2 separate regions of the Homo sapiens genome follow, and region 1 is linked to region 2. The links are contacts of gene promoters, found by promoter capture Hi-C in blood cells and fetal thymus (Javierre and others, 2016). All regions are on one chromosome and are shown on one strand. The core of a region is centred on a gene start or on the middle of the fragment in contact, and the rest is flanking DNA. Distances in the headings are between cores, read along the strand shown.

Region 1 (6,213 bases), core at 1,429-3,928, 7.1 Mb after region 2:
TTTTATTCAAATACTTTGTTAATTCCCTAGGCAGGTGTGATTTCCATAAAATAAAAGGTCCTGAGTAAAAAGGAAAAGAGTCAGTTTAAGAATTCTATGGCTGTACTGGAATAAAATATTAGCAAAAAGACTTGCTAATGCTACCCTGATAGTGATGTGTTAAGAAATCTTAGGCCGGGCGCGGTGGCTCACGCCTGTAATCCCAGCACTTTGGGAGGCCGAGGCGGGCGGATCACGAGGTCAGGAGATCGAGACCACGGTGAAACCCCGTCTCTACTAAAAATACAAAGAATTAGCCGGGCGCAGTGGCGGGCGCCTGTAGTCCCAACTACTCGGGAGGCTGAGGCAGGAGAATGGCGTGAACCCGGAAGGCGGAGCTTGCAGTGAGCGGAGATCGCGCCACAGCACTCCCGCCTGGGCGACAGAACGAGACTCCGTCTCAAAAAAAAAAAAAAAAAAAAAAAAAAAAAAAGAAATCTTAGAAGTTAGAAATAATTTACAAATAAATGATATTTTCTCTATATCCAGGAGAGGCAAAAAAAAATCATTGCTAAACGAAATTAAAACTGAAACACAGATGTCAAATATAATTGGAAAATTCTTAGCTTTTCTGAGAGATTTCTAAGATGGCTCCTTCATGAGGAAAGATATCAGGATTTTCTAGAAAATTTAAAAGTATAGGGCCAGGCACTATTGCTCATACCTGCAATCCCAGCACTTTGAGAGGCTTGAGGCGGGCAGATCACTTGAAGTCAGGAGTTAGAGACCAGCCTGACCAACATGGTGAAAACCTGTCTCTACTAAAAATACAAAATTAGCCGGGCATGGTGGCACACGCATGTAGTCCCAGCTACACGATGAGCCACAAGAATCACTTGAACTCAGGAGATGGAGATTGCAGTGAGCCAAGATCATGCCACTGCACTCCAGCCTGGGTTCTCAGTGATATATCGAAGTCGAGAATTTATAACATTCAGCAGAGCTTCATTAGACACTCTGAATAAATAATCTCATTTGCTGTGGGGATAAGGTCAAAAGGGTAAAATAAATAAGAATTTAGTAACCTGGATGTAATCCTTCTGACCCATACTTTTCATTATATAGATCTATAAAAGGAGCCTGAGTGGCTAGATGTTCATCCCTAAAAAGAGGCCTGGTTTCACTTTATTTATTTATTTATTTATTTGAGGCAGGGTCTCATTCTGTCACCAAGGCTGGAGTGCAGTGGCGTGATCTCAGCTCACTGCAGCCTCCACCCATAGGGCTCAAGGGATCCTCCCACCTCAGCCACCTGAGTAGCTAGGATTACAGGCAGCTGCCACCACACCCAGATAATTTTGCATTTTTTTGTAGAGATAGGGTCTCCCTGTGTTGGCCCAGACTGGTATCAAACTCTTGGGCTCAAGTGATCCACCCACCTCAGCCTCCGAAAGTGCTGGGGTTTCAGGCATGAGCCACCATGCCCAGCCTGATTTCACTATCTTTTGAGAGCATGTTAACAACCATATTATTGTATCCTTATAAATAATCTCTGAGGTATATAGGGGCATATATTAACCTGATTAAAAAGAGAAGGAACTGGCCAGGTGCGGTGGCTCATGCCTGTAATCTCAGCACTTTGGGAACTGAGGCGGGCAGATCACCTGAGGTCAGGAGTTTGAGACCATCCTGGCCAACATGGCAAAACCCCGTCTCTACTAAAAACACAACAATTAGTCGGGTGTGGTGGCGTGTGCCTGTAATCCCAGCTACTTGAGAGGCTGAGGCAGGAGAATCACTTGAACCCAGGAGGCAGAGGTTGCCGTGAATGGAGATCCCACCACTGCACTCCAGCCTGGGCGACAGAGTGAGACTCCGTCTCAAAAGAGACAGAGAGAGAGAGAGAAAAGGAAGGAAGAAGGGAAGGAGAGAAGGAGGGAATGAGGGAGGGAAGGAAGGAAGGAAGGAAGGAGAAGGAAGGAAGGAAGAAAGGAGAAGGAAGGAAGGAAGGAAGGAAGGAGGGAAGGAAAGAAAGAAAGAAAGAAAAGAAGGAAAGGAAGAAAGAAAGAAAGAAACTAAAGCCCAACACAGGAATATTAAAAACATGGAGTCTGGCTACTTAGGGGCACGTTTACTTATTAGCTGGGTGGCAAGTTACCGAAGCTCTTGAAGCTTCAGTTAACTTACCTGTAGATTGGGGATACTATTAGTTATTAGTACTCCACTGTGTTGTTGTGAAGTTAAGTAGATTAGTTTACCAGTACAGTACTATTAGAGTAGTGCCCGTCACATAGGAAGCATTAAGAAAGAAGTTGTTATCACTTGGGACAGCAAATTCAGTTGGTCATATTTGGAGAAAGAAAACTATCCTGCCCTCTATGGATAAATTCTCCTTTCGGAGGGGGTTTATTTTCATTTCCAAATACTAGAAACCCACCTAGCCTGACATTTTATTACTAAAGGAGTTCTGCCAACTCTCTCACTGTAATCTAAGGCCAAATTAATTCCTCTCTGTCCTGTGTTCTTTCTTATTCTCTTTAAATCTTACCAGGGACACATTTATCTGTCTGTGCAGGCCCAACTTATTTTCAGTCTCAAGAACTATGCTATTCTTCCTCCTACTCCCAATCCCAACACATGCAGGAAAAGCATGCTACAGTGGGCTTAGCAGAATTTAGGGGAAAGCGTAACATTTGATTGAAGAGCTCTGCTGTTTTTTTTCTCTTACTAGACTTCTCCATATCACATTCTAATCTAGGCTTAGGGCATTTCAAAATATATCTGATTAAAATTAATATTGTATGACTAATAAAATAGAAAAATTCCAATTAAATTAGGTATCATTAACATGGAGTAACTTGCTTCAATATTACCTTAAAGCAGTAACTGGGTGAAATGAAATGGCATAAAGACTGCATCTCCAAATATCTCTACCCATCACAGTCCCAAGATATTCAATTATTAATTTTTTTCTCCAGGGATTCAAATATAAATGTACAGAAGTATAACATTATTATCTCAGTAAACCTCTCCATGGGGATCATGTTCTTTGGGAATACTACAAATGAGAAAAAAAAAAGTGAAGTATTGATTTACATATTGAAAAAAATCCTGAATGAAATACATAAAAAAGAAGGCAACATTTCAACCATGAAGCAGACTTGTATTAGATTGGCATAGTAACTTTCAGATGGGAAGGGAGAGTAGTTTACCTATCTTTGGAATTTGAAGCTTTGATATTAGACAGTGTGGTACAGGGGATAGAGTTGAGAAACCTGAATTTAAGCCCTGTTTTGTTATCAACTAGCCAAGTGACTCAGATTAAACATTTAACTCCTTTGGATGTCAAGTCTCTTATTTTTAAAATGAAGATGTTGGATTTGATAATCACCAAGGTTCCTATCCAGATCTAAAATTTCATGTACGGTAAACATTCATTTTAAGGGGTATGGTTAACCAGTGCCTACCACAATATTTGAAAGCATTGTACTAGGTGCTAGGCAAGTAAAAAGATAACTATAACAAGTTTCCTGATATCAGAGGTTTATATGGTGTGGATTATTTAAATGACCAGGTAATATTTGCAGAGCATTATGTAGTCATTTTATTATACTTTGTAAAACGTGGGGGCAGTGAGGGTCAGCCGACTAGGAATGAGCTTTGCCTCTCAATCCTTAGGCTATAGCTGACTCTTTATAAAGATCTGGGTAAATTACCTCTAAGTCTGTTTTCTACTTGAAAATAATCATACTGACTCAACTGAAAGCAATGTTGAGAAATAACAGAGGTTGTACATTCTATAAATTTTTATGGACACCATGCATATGCCAGGCCAGTGTTGGGAGCTGGGGCAAAGCAGCCGACCCATCCTTCATCTAGCTTAACTCTTATACACATTATTATAAAGTATGCTGCAAATAAATTAATAGAGCAAATGACTAGCTATAATTAATTGTGGGCTTATTGTAATTTAGAGGTGTCACGAAGGAAGCCCTTTTCTGTGCAAAATAACATGTGTCTCAGTCTTTGAAGTACCATGGTAAACGGTAAAAAAAAAAATCATAAATATTACACACACAAAAGATTTGAAACTTGTATTAAATGACATATAATTTATTATTTCCTAGATGTAGATTAAGCTGAAACATAAATAGAATAAAGAATGCAGGAGCAGCTTCCCTGCTCAGAGTAAGGGCGGATATTCTTACTGCTAGATCTGCCCAACAAGCAATCCCCTATCTCAGAGTCCAGAGGTACCTACCCATCACTGTGGGGCCCCGCTGAGGTACTGTCATGATAAAGGTGATCAATAAGGATGTTCTATGAGAGATTCTTGTCTTGCGAAAGAACCTGAAGCAAATAATAAATAACTTCAGGTACAGTTCTGAGATTCCATAAAGTGATTCATAAATGTTTGAATGATAAAAATATTATATAAATAGTATTATAAGGATGTAATTTATTAAAGAGAAATTAGCGATTAAGATGGAGGGAGCATTTTACCATGGGAGTGCTGTGGGACACAGAAACTGGTTTGTCTGAGCCCCTTCCAAATAGCATAACATTTGTGTCCTGATTTAAAATCTAAATTTCAGAGCCTGGAAACCCAAAAGCCTGGGCTGTAGAAATCTAAAACCAAAAAGACCGTGCGTTCTGTTACCTGTGATTTGTGGTGTCACCTACTCTTTGAGGCTCCCAGATGGCCCAGGGCCTTAGGATATGGGGATGCCTTGTAGGTGTGTTGTTGTTGGAGTTGGTGGCTGGGATGAGGGTGGAGGCAGGGTAGGGTGGGGGTGGGTTGGGGTGGGGGGAATCCTCCGTTAATATCTCGAAATATTGTTCTGTTACCATAATGCGGTGTGATAAGTTAGCTTCAAGTATTGAAAAATCAGGGCAGGACTCATGGAAATGGTGCGAATTCTTGACTTAGGGTCAGAAGAATTCACCAAAATTAACGTCTCCCTCTGCCAAATAACAGCCAGTTTCAATTTCTGGACGGCCTCTCCGCGGGAGTGACAGGTTTTCTTAGATGCCGCCGGGGGTCTTTCACGGGCTGGTGGTCTGCCCCCTGGACTCGTCCATGTGTTAGGCTCAGTCCGCAGCTCAGAGCGCGGCCCTGTATTTCTGTCTGATGTCTGGGGCATACAGATGTGTGTGACGGACAATGCTCGTGGCATTCGAAGCCTCTTTAACAGACATTAGTGACTAGAGGAAAGAAGTGTGCGAACTCTGCGAAACAAGTATGCGGACTCTGGAAAAGAAGTACATTTCGAAAGTGGGGAGAGGATGGATCTTCGTAGGAGAAATGGAAATTTGCTCCCCACCAGAAGGTTTGCTGGAAATTAAGACGCGGCAATTCTTAATCCAGTTTCCTGCGGTAGGAAGCAGCTGACAAGAGAAGTCCCAGTCCGAGTTCGGCGCGAACTGGACAAGTGTCGTGGGACAAGTGGCGGGAGACCCGGCCGCGTCGCGCCGGGCGCTAGGGACGGACGCATTTCCCTACTTCCAGCAGCTGGTACGAGCCGCCCCCAACTGCGCTGCGCTGCTCTATTCTTTGGGAAACACTTCGCGTGCTTTGTTTCAGACGCCGACCCATCTTTCTTGGTGGGTCTCCAGCTCCACCAATCCCGCCCGCCACTGGGCGGGGTTTCAGGGTCAAGGTGGACCAATTTCCCAGCTTCGCCCCTACACGCGCTCTCGGACCCCTGGGGGTGACTGACAGCAGCCGGGCCCAACCCGCTGCTCCGGAGCATGGCCTCCGCCAGGGGCGTTACGGAGACAAGGCCCCAGGACCAATCGTATTGGCCAGTGGGGGGCGGGGCCTCGTTGCCAGCTCCAGACCGGCGCTATGGGCACTCCTTTTGTCAAATGAGAGACGCAGCAGGGCGGCCCCTGAGCCGCGGTTTAGCCAATGGAGAAGGCGAGATGGGCGGGCTGGGAGTGCCCGGCGGCGGGTCCTCAGCTTCGAGCCGAGGTGCAGTGAGCTGGTGGGGGGACCGCGAGGCGAGCGCGGGAGCCTGGGCGGCGAGCCGGGTGTGAGCTGCCTGAAAATGCACTCGGATGCCGCCGCTGTCAGTGAGTAGCAGAGAGCCAGCCAGCGGGCCGGGGCCGGGCGGCTGCCAAACTCGCCACTCGGCTCCCGCAGTCCCCGCCCCACGCCTCGGGTCCCGAAACGCGCCGGGAGCCCCTGCCTGGGAACCACCCCTTCCCCTCCCGGGGCCGGGGCGGGCGGTG
Region 2 (6,022 bases), core at 680-3,179:
GCATTCCTGAGTTTTGTACCCACACACTTTACATAGAGTAATAAGTCAAATTTTCTAAATTAATGAGATTAAAAGGTCTTATTAAAATAAATGTATGGAATCTAAATGTCTTTAAGAAGGTAACAGTTTCGAATTCTGACACAACAACAAAAAATCATGGTCACCATGATCTAGAATTCTGGCCCGATAACAATTATTTATTTACAGAAAATAAATTACATAGTAAGTCATAAATTCAGTCCAACAACTGGACTCAGCCTCCACTTAAATATAATCCATAATCTAATGTCAAAAACAATTTTAGAGTTAAACCAAAGAATCAGAAAGAATTATTGGCTGTAATGAACATCAAAAGATATATTTACTTCTAACAAGAATATATGGCCAGCTGATTGTTAATAAAACGGAAAAAAAATAAGGTAAGGAGGACGAGAAGCATTAGAGCTTTCCAATGTCTTCTGCATCCTGGGCATGTTATTTTTCTCAGTTCAACACACGTTTGAAGACCTATTATATTCTAAGCACTATGCTAGGTTCTGTAGACACAAAAATGATTAACTCTATTGTCAAAGGGCTTAGAATCACTTGTCTCTGAGGTTGAAAGCATTATTCTCACTCTTCATATACAGAAAACTGCAACTACGAGAAGTTTATTGCTGACGTTAAAAAGTGGCCCGGGGAGCTGGCTTTAAAACTAAGTGTTTCTGACTCAAAGAGACATTAGCCAAAGATGTCTTACCGGTTGAGAATCACTTACGATGCTAGTTAAAAATACAGATTCTCAGGTCCCTCTCCCTAGACACAGTGTTTCAAAAGATCTGAAATGAAGTCCAAGGAATCTCTGCTTTTGCAAATTATCACAGGGGATATTCATAATCAGGTGAAATTTGTTAAGAACACCACACATCTCACTGAAACGAAGTTTAAGCAAGTCTCTCAGACCAAGGTACAGGCAACTTTTTGTTTTCTTAAACTCTCTGGAGGGCGCAGAGTCACCTCCAAAAGTCCCAAATGAATCCCTTCACCCAGAGCAAAGAAGAATTTCTTCACCACATTTAAGTTTTTAAGATTTGACTTTTCCAGTTTTTGCCAATCCTCAGAGATCCAAACTATTGTCGCCTTATGCAATTCTCTGGCATCACAAGACAGCATCAAAAAACAACAGAGCACCACCCTTTCCCTCGTCTTCCTTCAGGTGCTGATTCATTTTGGATGTGCATCGCTAGGAAAAAGGGCTGCTGAATATAAATCGCAAAACTTCAATGGTGGATGACAACTTCTACACCCGTGAAGTTACACAGCTAGTTAATGGCGGGGCCAAGACCAGAATCTACACTTGCAGAACCTCTGCTCTGAGCTTTTCCCTACTCAACCTGACCTGTCCTGAAAGCGTAAGGGTGGCCTGGCCGCGCGTGTGGGACCGACCCGAGGAGGGACGAGAGACAGCAAAGAAGGCTGTGGTTCCTGCCCGGGAGGCGGGGGCTGCAGATTCCCCTCAGCTGCGCGTTTGCCTGGCCCTCACTTGGCAAAGGACAGCGAATGCAAATGAGGATGACTGTTAGGAATTTTTAACGAGTGTAGAGAGAGGTGTCAAGAAGAAGCCGCGAGAGAGGAGAGGGCAGGGACGCCTTCTCCCGTAGGCACAAATCCGGAGAGGACAACCAGGTCCGCGAGTGGCAATACGGGAGACCCCACGCGCCCCCAGCCTCGAGGTTCCTGAGCACCCATTCCGCCCCGGCCCGGCGTCCCAGTCTCAGCACAAAGGCCGCACAGGGCGAAGTTGCCGTCGGGTCCCCCGACCCGAGTCCCCTTCTTGGCGCCCCCGCCGCACCCCCCGCTAAACTTACCGGCAGACCCAATGGTTCTTCGATGCTGGAACAGCGGGAACAAGCAACACCCAACCACCCGAGAGCGACCCCAGCTGACCAGTGGAGCGCGAATCCCACGGACCCGGATGCAGATAAAGGCGCAGGAAGGAACCGCGGCGTGGCTGGCGGGCGCTGCGCATGCGCACCGCCTTTAGGACGCCTGAGGTGAGACGCGAGGAGTTCGGTCCGAGTGCGGTGCGGCTGGGCGCTCTTCTTGCCTGGAAGATCGCAGTTTCTGGGTCATCACTTTACGCTACTTTCCCCTCCCCCCCATCTTTCAAAGAGGGATTTGCAGTAGATTCTTTAGGCTTATGAGATTTAGTATGTAAGACCGTAGTGCTCACACGTACTTTGTTGCTTATGTTGCTGTTTGGCAACATGAATATATTTGCCATTTATGAATACATTTCTCTCTCTACTCCAAGCTATTGAATGCATATTTGCAAACGCAATGACAGATAAGCGTCTTGTGTCAAAAAACTCATCAAAGTTTGCAAAAGGGCAAACAGTACCATGGGAAATCGGGAGCGTCTCAGTAAGAGAAAACACTATATAATAGGGTACTGGCTTTTGCTGAATGAGTCTAAGAAAGGGATAGGGGAAGCTGGAATCAGCTTTGAGCTGGGTATCACAGATGTTTATACAGGAGTGGGAAGGAATTGGGCTGTGGAAATTATTGTAAAGAAAGCAGCTATCATTCAAAAGGAGAAAAGTGTGTTGTGTCTTCACCATGTTCCATCAGGAACACTGTTCCATTAATAACACCGTTTAGGGTTCTGTTAGGAACAATACAATCTTGACTCCTAGCCAACTTAAGGTTCTGTTTCTGTGGAAACTACAAGTTAAAAAAATGTAAAACGCTGTGTCCTCAAACTCGTTATATGAAGTTTTTCACCTGGGTTGTAAATCCAGCCTGCTTCTTTGAATGTAATGACTCCTCTTGCATCCTTTAGTGAAGAGTAGGATGTTACATTCTCGTTGATTTAGCTTCAAACAGCAACATTGCTCACATACTGATAATAGACAGGTTTATTAGTACTATCGCCTTCAGTAAGTTTGCAAAAGCGATTTTTGGCCAGATTCGGTGACTCACGCCTGTAATCCCAGCACTTTCAGAGGTCATGGTGCATGGATGGCTTGAACCCAGGAGTTGGAGACCAGCCTGGGCAACATAGCAAGACCCTGTCTCTCCAAAAAAGATTGAGGTAAAATGATGAAGTAGTTTGTAGGCTATGCATAGAATTTAGGCTTTGTATTGTAGGCAATAGGGAGTCACTTAAGCTTTATGAATTGAAGATAAGAGACTAGAACATACGTGTTTTAGAAAGAATGCTGTAGAAAGGTGGAGACTGAATTACAGTCTTGAATTACAGATATGTGCCACATAAGGAAGTTTAGGTAAAGAATGGACTGGATATTTGGCAATGGTCCCATAAGATTATAACAGAACTGAAAAATTCCTATCACCTAGCGACATTGTAGTAAACGTAAAGTTGTAGAGCAACACCACTCGTGTTTGTGGCTACATAGGTGTAAACCTACTGTGCTTCCAGTCTCATAAAAGTCTAGCACATACAATTATGTACAGGATATAATACTTGATAATAAATGACTATGTTACTGGTATATGTATTTGCTATATTATACTCTTTATCATTATTTTAGAGTGTATTCATTCTATTTCTATTTTTATTTTTATTTATTTGTTTATTTTTTTGAGACAGAGTCTCGCACTGTCACCCAGGCTGGAGTGCAATGGCACAATCTTGGCTCACTGCAACCTCTGCCTCCTGAGTTCAAGCAATTCTCCTGCCTCAGCCTCCTGAGTAGCTGGGATTACAGGCAGCTGCCACCACGCCCGTCTAATTTTGTTTTATTTTTAGTAGAGACGGGGTTTCACTTATTAGCCACGCTGGTCTCGAACTCCTGACCTCGTGATCTGCCTGCCTCGGCCTCCCAAAGTGCTGGGATTATAGGCGTGAGCCACCATGCTTGGCCCTATTTATATTTTTAAAAGTTAACTATAAAACAGCCTCAAGGAGGTCTTTCAGGAGGTATTCCAGAAGAAGGCATTGTTATTATAGATGAGAGCTCCATGTGCATTATTGCCCTGATGAACTTCCAGTGGGATAAGATGTGAAAGTGAAAGACAGGGAGATTGATAATCCTGACCTTGTGTAGGCCTAGGCTAACATGTGTGTTTGTGTCTTCATTTTAACAAAAAAATTTGAATAGGAAAAAAATTAAAAATAGATTTTAAAATAAAAAAACTTATAGAATAAGGATATAAAGAAACAAAATATTTTTGGACAGCTCTCCAATGTGTGTTTTAACCTTAACGTTGTTACTAGAGTCAAAAAGTTTTTTTTTTTTCTGAGACAGAGTCTCACTCTGTTGTCCAGGCTGGAATGCAGTGTCGCAATCTTGGCTGACTGCAAACTCTACCTCCCAGATTCAAGCAATTCTCCTGCCTCGGCCTCCCGAGTAGCTGGGACTACAGGCGCATGCCACCACACCCGGCTAATTTTTTGTGTTTTTAGTAGAGACGGGGTTTCACTGTGTTAGCCAGGATGGTCTCGATCTCCGGACCCCATGGTCCCCCCTCCTCAGCCTCCTATAGTGCTGGGATTACAGGCGTGAGCCACCACTCCCGGCCAAAAAGTTTTTTAAAAATTTAAATATAAAGTAAGAAAGCTACAGGAAATTAAATTTACTATTGAAGAAAAAAAACATCGTTTTATAAATTTAGTGTAGCCTAACTCTACATTGTTTATAAAATCTACAGTAGTGTACAGTAATGTCCTAGGTCTTCACATTCACTCACCACTCATTCACTGACTTACCCAGAGCACCCTCCAGTCCTGCAAGCTCCTTTCATGGTAAATGTCCTATACAGGTGTACTGTTAATATTTTTTAATTTTTATACTTTTTTTTTTACTATACCTTTTCTTTGTTTAGATATGCAAATATATACCATTGTGTTACATTGCTTACCGTATTCAGTAATATGCTGTACAGGTTTGTAGTCTAGGAGCAATAGGCTATACCATATATGTGTAGTTTGTGTATATATGCTAGGTTTGTGTGCATATACTGTATAACATTCACACTATAATGAAATCGTCTGAAGATGCATTTCTCAGAATGTATCCCCATAATTAAGTGATGCATGACTGTATGTTATGAAGACTCCAACACGGAACGACTCTGAGTGTACCTTGTATTTTTCCTACCCAGCCTTGGTATCAGGCATTTCACTAATAGCTGATAGTTGTTTTATTAATCAACAATGGATGTTGAATTTTGTCAAACACTTTCTATGTATCTATTGAAATGGTTGTATGGTTTTCCACTCTAATATGTTGGTGAATTCAATGTTGAGTGCACTTTTATTGCTGGAGAAAATTAGATTTGGTCATTGTTTTTCTTGGTCAGGGTCTTTCTTATACATTTATTGTTGGGTTCAATGTTCTAAAATTTTGTTTAAAAATTTTACACCTATGTGTATGAGGGATATCAGTCCATAGTTTTTTTGTTTATTAGTTTTTTTTTGTGTGTGAAGTCTTTGTCTAGTTTTAGTATCATAGTAATAACAAACTTATAAATTGAGTGGGAAAATTTCCCTCTTCAATGTTTTGGAATAATTTGTGTTGAATTATAGTAACATAATGTATTCTTTAAATACTTGATAGAATTCACTAGAGAAGCCGTACGTACATAGAGTTTTCTTTTTTGAAAAAATTTAACTATAAATCCAATTTCCTGAATAAATACAGGATTATTCAGGTTATCTATTACATAATTTTCATCGAGATGTAATTCACATACTATAAACTCAGGCTTTTAAAGTATACAGTTCAGTGACTTTCAGTATACTCACAATGATATGTAACCATCACCACTATCTAATTCTGTTTTTCTATTTCTATCCCCCACCCCACATCAAAAGAGACCTCATCACCTGTTAGCAGTCACTTCCAATTCTCCCTCCCCTACCTGATTTCCTGGCAACCACTAGTATACTTCCTCTCTCTGTGGATTTGCCTATTCTAGATATTTCATATAAATGGAATCCATATGTGGCCTTTTTTTGTCTTGTTTCTTTCACTTTGCACCATATTTTCTAGCTCCATCCATGTTGTACTTCATTACA

The links. The method cuts DNA at HindIII sites, captures the fragments that hold promoters and counts their contacts. A CHiCAGO score of 5 or more calls a contact.
Region 1: a fragment that was not itself captured here is called in contact with the fragment with the promoter of GNPDA2 in region 2 in 1 of 17 cell types (total B cells); the score reaches 5.0 in total B cells.

Annotation. Positions count from the first base shown.
Region 1 is chr4:51,837,214-51,843,426 of GRCh38, forward strand. DCUN1D4 (defective in cullin neddylation 1 domain containing 4) reads left to right here and starts at 5,940. Exons shown (of 11, transcript NM_001040402.3): 1 at 5,940-6,054. The coding sequence starts at 6,030. RefSeq lists silencers at 5,668-5,817, 5,828-5,877, 5,968-6,213. The HindIII fragment of the contact is 1,059 bases long and covers 2,150-3,208 here.
Region 2 is chr4:44,724,627-44,730,648 of GRCh38, forward strand. It overlaps GNPDA2 (glucosamine-6-phosphate deaminase 2), which reads right to left and starts at 1,930. Exons shown (of 7, transcript NM_138335.3): 1 at 1,848-1,930. RefSeq lists a silencer at 1,346-1,640 and an enhancer at 2,133-2,262. The HindIII fragment of the contact is 3,169 bases long and covers 1-3,147 here.